Regions from separate parts of the Homo sapiens genome. Here region 1 is linked to region 2. The links are contacts of gene promoters, found by promoter capture Hi-C in blood cells and fetal thymus (Javierre and others, 2016). All regions are on one chromosome and are shown on one strand. Each heading gives the region's core, a stretch centred on a gene start or on the middle of the fragment in contact. The rest is flanking DNA. Distances are from core to core; before and after follow the strand shown. Region 1 overlaps ELAC2 (elaC ribonuclease Z 2). Region 2 holds the start of MAPK7 (mitogen-activated protein kinase 7).

Evidence for each region. Contacts are between HindIII fragments. The CHiCAGO score rates a contact against its expected background, and 5 or more counts as called.
Region 1: a fragment that was not itself captured here is called in contact with the fragment with the promoter of MAPK7 in region 2 in 1 of 17 cell types (neutrophils); the score reaches 10.6 in neutrophils.

The regions. Positions count from the first base shown.
Region 1 is chr17:13,008,378-13,011,077 of GRCh38, forward strand. ELAC2 (elaC ribonuclease Z 2) reads right to left here. Exons shown (of 24, transcript NM_018127.7): 8 at 2,236-2,294. Among named protein-coding and RNA genes, the nearest start is that of ELAC2, 8.3 kb to the right of the region's middle. The HindIII fragment of the contact is 9,574 bases long and covers 1-2,700 here.
Region 2 is chr17:19,377,169-19,379,868 of GRCh38, forward strand. MAPK7 (mitogen-activated protein kinase 7) reads left to right here and starts at 1,330. Exons shown (of 7, transcript NM_002749.4): 1 at 1,330-1,462; 2 at 1,728-1,964; 3 at 2,614-2,700. The coding sequence starts at 1,733. It also overlaps a transcript of B9D1 not described here. RefSeq lists silencers at 406-455, 1,166-1,225, 1,296-1,555 and an enhancer at 726-955. The HindIII fragment of the contact is 26,192 bases long and covers 1-2,700 here.

The DNA.
Region 1 (2,700 bases), core at 186-2,685, 6.4 Mb before region 2:
GGTGCGCTCCTGTAGTCCCAGCTACTCGGGAGGCTGAGGCAGGAGAACTGCTTGACCCTGGGAGGCAGAGGTTGCAGTGAGCCAAGATCGCACCACTGCACTCCAGCCTGGTGACAGAGCGAGACTCTGTCTCAAAAAAAGAAAAAAAAAGGTACTTGCCGACTTAAGGCAGGGAAACCCATCTCCCTGGGAGCTGAACTCAACCCATGGAGATATGTTCCTCTCTGAGGAATGCAGAGTATCTGGAAGACTGATGAGAGCCAGAACGCAGCCAATAACGCCCCAACAGTGCACCAGCTGCCCAAAGCCGAGGTCTTCCAACAGATGAGTTTTTCAGGTCCTCATGCCAAGAGACTCCTGGAACTTGACCTAGCTCAGCTTTATTGCTTTCCAAAACCTCACCTGAGAGCAGCAAATTAATTAGAAGAGGGGAAAGGCGTTATAGGCTAATCCAGTGACAGCAGCCCTCAGAAGGAGCCGCAGAAGACAGCAAGGAAGGAGATGGAAAAGCCAGGGCAGGCAGCTGGCAGCCCCCAGGAACGGCTGCCTGATAATAGGGCAACTGCCCGAGTGTGTAAAAGTGAGCTTGTCACTTTTCATCATGCTCACTGTTACCTATTCCGGAAAGCAGGAATACGATTTAAAGATTACCATAGAAAACAGTTTAAAAATCAGACAATATAAATATAGATTATCAAAAATAAAATATTTTTAAAACTTTAAAAAATGATTTTGCTATCTAAAACTCAGAAACATACAAGTAATAAGCCTGTTAACAGTAGTACTTAACTTTTATGAAAATCACATTATTCAAATAAATCGATAGAAATGATACTGGCAATGATCTTGCCACTAATATTAACTACTTACTTTCATTATTATTTTCACTTGTAGCTTTTAGAATTTAGATAACAATTCCAAATATATTTCAAAATCAACATTAAAAAATAATCTAAGCCCACAAAAAGGCAATGAAATCTTTTCACATATTTAGACAAATTTGTTGCAAATTGTATTGATAAAATTTTAATGCAAAATTCTATTAAAAATAAGCCACTAGTCAGATCTTACAAACAGCTTATTGTAACAAAAATTTTTAATGGAATTTGACCAATTTCAGAGTTACAGATCTAGGCCTTTGTGAATGCTAGCTAATATTCCAATTAATCTGGTGTTAGACCTTAGCTATTGCAGGGGAATGAAATAAAGTAAAACAGAGTTAAAAGACTTTGAATAAAGGCCTGATGGAGTTGAAGGAAAACAAACACAGCTGCCTTCAATAATTTCTGAATTCTAAAAGGACCAATCATTGGCAAATATAAAAGAATATGGACCAGGCACAGTGCTTCACGCCTGTAATCCCAGCATTTTGGGAGGCCAAGGTGGGTGGATCACCTGAGGTCAGGAGTGAAACCAGCCTGGCCAACATGGTGAAACCCCATCTCTACTAAAAATACAAAAATTAACTGGGTGTGGTGGCGCGCACCTATAATCCTAGCTACTTGGGAGGCTGAGGCAGGAGAATCACTTGAACCTGGGAGGTGGAGGCTGCAGTGAGCCGAGATTGTGCCACTGCACACTCCAGCCTAGGCGATGGAGACAGACATGGTCTCAAAAAAAAAAAAAAAAAATGTACGGAGGCTGACAGGGCACTGGAAAAAAATTTAAAAGGAAATAAAAGTATGGGGTTATTTTGAGAAACAGAGCATCTAAACTCTGAAACCTACAAGTGATGACAATTATGAAAGGTCAGTAGTAATACTTGTTGCAGGCTCATTGCCAGTGTCATTTCTATCGAATTTTTTTTTTCTTTGAGAGAGTCTTGCTCTGTCACCCAGGCTGGAGTGCAATGGTGCAATCTCAACTCACTGCAACCTCCGCCTCCTGTGTTCAAGCGATTCTCTTGCCTTGGCCTCTCAAGTAGCTGGGATTACAGGCATGCGCCACCACACCCAGCTAATTTTTGTATTTTTAGTACAGACAGGGTTTCACCACGTTGGTCAGGCTGTTCTCAAACTCCTGACCTCGTGATCCACCTGCCTTGGACTCCCAAAGTGCTGGGATTACAGGCGTGAGCCACTGCACCCGGCCTTCCATCAGCTTTTCTGAAGATCTGCTATCTCTTCTTGTCTCAGGTAACAGGAGTGCCTACCCTCAAATTAATGAAAAAGTGCAAACCAGAGGTCGCTGACCAAGACCCCAGTCATGTACAGCCCTCCGGAAAGTCTTCCTTACCTTACAGATGAAAGCTACGACCAGGGAAGAGTCCCTGACCCCTCTTCTCTGGCTAACACCTGAGGAAAAACACACTTGATTATCACAAGGTAAATGTGAAAGCTGTGAAGACATCACAGACTGATTATGACCCGATACCTAATTTCACTTCACATAAAAATTAATGGACGCTACTGTCCCAATACAAAGGCTGAAGACACTAATATACTCAAGAAGACTTTTTTTCCCTACTTATGTGGAGATGTGTTTGCGTAAATGAAAAACACAAAACTCTCACCAGAAAAACTTTAGAATGGCAAGTGAAATTTTTTTTAAATGACACATTTCACCTAGGACTGGAGAAGACAGAGAAAAATATATTGTAATGTGCTTTATAACACATATAATATATGAAATAACACAAAAGTTCAAAGGCCTGCAGAGAAAATGCTGGTGTCAGTCTTTACCCGGTGCCATCCAAACAAG
Region 2 (2,700 bases), core at 80-2,579:
ACCATGTCCTTAACATTGGCAAAATAAACTTTCTAAATTGACTTGAGACTTGTCTCAGATACTTGGTTCACATAGGTTTCTTTTAGGGGCGATGAAAATGTTCCATAAACCACTCTACCTAAAATTAGGTAGTGATGATGGCTGCTCAACTGTGAATATACCAAAAAACACTGAATTGTACACTATAAAAGGATGAGTTTTATGGTATGTTATTAAAAGTTGTTTAAAAGTGAGGGACCCCTCCAGTTATTGATATGGAATGATCTTCAGGAAAAGAGCATAATATGCTACATTTTTGTACACCAAAGGGGAGGTAGGTACGAATATGCATACATATTGCTTTTTTCTAGAAGCCGCCTAGGAGTGAAACCAAAATTCTTCACTTCTTTTCGGCCCTACCTCGAGCTCCCTTTAGAAAACCTTTCCTTCCAGCTCACAGTATCCACCATGTCCACCTTCGCCTCCCGGCACTGAGCCTTAGAGGGGCGGTGCTCCATAAACATTTGCTACATGAATGAACGAATAAACTATCGGATTTTGGGGTGGGTCGGGACAGCTCGGTTCCAGCGAGGGCTCCGCCCACCCGCGGGCTCCGCAGAGGAGCAGAGGTTGGGCGGCCGCCTCGGTTAACTCCGCTGCAGCCCAAAGCACGGGAATCGCGGGACAGACAAACGAGCGGAGGGAAGATACCTAGAAGCCAGGAAACCGCGAGCTGCAGTCCAACTTGGCCGGAAGCTGCGGAGAGGCTCAGCCACCGGAAGTCAGTGGAGGGTTCGGCCGGACGCTCTAGAATCCCGGAGGACCGGGATCTCTGTGGTTGGCCGTGACGGGCACCCTCTACCGGGGATGACACATTCCCAGAGCTCCTGGGACCAAGCAAATGGCGGACACAATTCCCTGGGCGGAAGGGGACTTCGGGAGCCAGTAGCCAAGGTAACAGTCCCAGACCTGGGCATCTCAGGCCGGGCAGTTCCCCGAGCTCACGGGACTAGCTGTGATTGGCCGGATGAGGTTGAGAGCTTCATGGGGACGCGCGCGCTACGTGCAGGGGCGTTGCCTTCCATTCACTTGGCGCCCGACTGCCAGTGCGCATGCGTTTGAAGGCGGTGCAGGGCGGGGAGCACACCCCTGCGAAGTGCCGGGCACCCTTTGGGCGGCTCCCGCCGGCGAGCTGGACAGCGGCGCGCGCCAGGCGTGGCTTTCTCGGCCGGTGGGCTAGGATTGGACGCAGTAGGTAGAAGGGGCAGGACCCTCCGCAGCAGTAGCTCAGCGATTGGCCAGGAGCTGGAGGGAGCGTGGCCTTGGGAGGCGGGGCGGAGGGGGACGGACAGGGCAGCTCAAGACGCTGAGGTGGTGGCTGCGGCCTTTGAACAAGTAAGTGAGCCACCCTCGGAGACCCCCGCGCTGGGGACGGGAGGCCGGCGAGCCTCGGGACCTCTGAAAGCCTTGAGGAGGCGCGGGGGTGAGTGCGGCCCTGAGGAAACCCAGGTGCCCCGCCCCTCCCTTTCTTCCTGGCCCGCGCCTCGCCTACCCCTCCCCCGACCCTGGCGGGCCCCCGGCTCTGGGCCCGGACCCCTGGGGTAGCTAGTCTGCCACGAACCAGCCGCGCGCTTCTGCCCTTGTCGGTTTAGGAAACTGGGAAGTTCCCTGGTCCTGCTCCCCAGCCCGCAGAGGGGACACTGAGGCCCACGGTAGGTGGTCCTCTCCTCACCCGAGTCTCCACACAGACACCATGGCCGAGCCTCTGAAGGAGGAAGACGGCGAGGACGGCTCTGCGGAGCCCCCCGGGCCCGTGAAGGCCGAACCCGCCCACACCGCTGCCTCTGTAGCGGCCAAGAACCTGGCCCTGCTTAAAGCCCGCTCCTTCGATGTGACCTTTGACGTGGGCGACGAGTACGAGATCATCGAGACCATAGGCAACGGGGCCTATGGAGTGGTGTCCTCCGCCCGCCGCCGCCTCACCGGTGAGCTTCCTGAGCCGTCGCCTCCCAGATGTGGCAGCGTCGCAGGGAGTGGGAAACCGGCCTGTCCCAGACAGCCGGGAAGGAAAGCGGGGTGCGAGTTCTGGCTCCAGTCAACACACACTGACCAGGGCCTTCTGCCTGCCAGGCTCCGGGGAGGCTCGGTTCTCTGAAACTCCGGCCTGGTGGTTTTGCCATCCTGCCTGCCTACTTCCTCCTTAGGAAAATGATAGTCCCAGTTAGACCAGAATGGAGAGCCAGTCCTTCGTGTCTAAGAGAGAAATGTGTTCTGGAGCCAGACACTGGCATAAGGAACTGGTGGTGGGATGGGTGAGGTCTGAGATGGAGAGGGTGTAGGCATAAGAGGCTGAGCTACACCACTGGGCATCCGTGCAACCTCCAACAAGTTACTAAGCCATATTTCCTTCTCTTTAACGTTGACCTATTGGGACCTGCCCCGCAGGGGAGTTGTGAAGGTAACATTTAATAATGTAGGTAACATGCTTAGCACAGGGCTTGGCACATAGTAGGTACCCAATACTTGGTAGCTGTTGTCATTTGCATCCTAGAAGGGAGGTGTTGATAGGGGCTGAGTCGACTCTGCAGTTTCTCCAAGGTATCCTCTGGTATGTCCCTTTTCCCTGCTCCTCAGGCCAGCAGGTGGCCATCAAGAAGATCCCTAATGCTTTCGATGTGGTGACCAATGCCAAGCGGACCCTCAGGGAGCTGAAGATCCTCA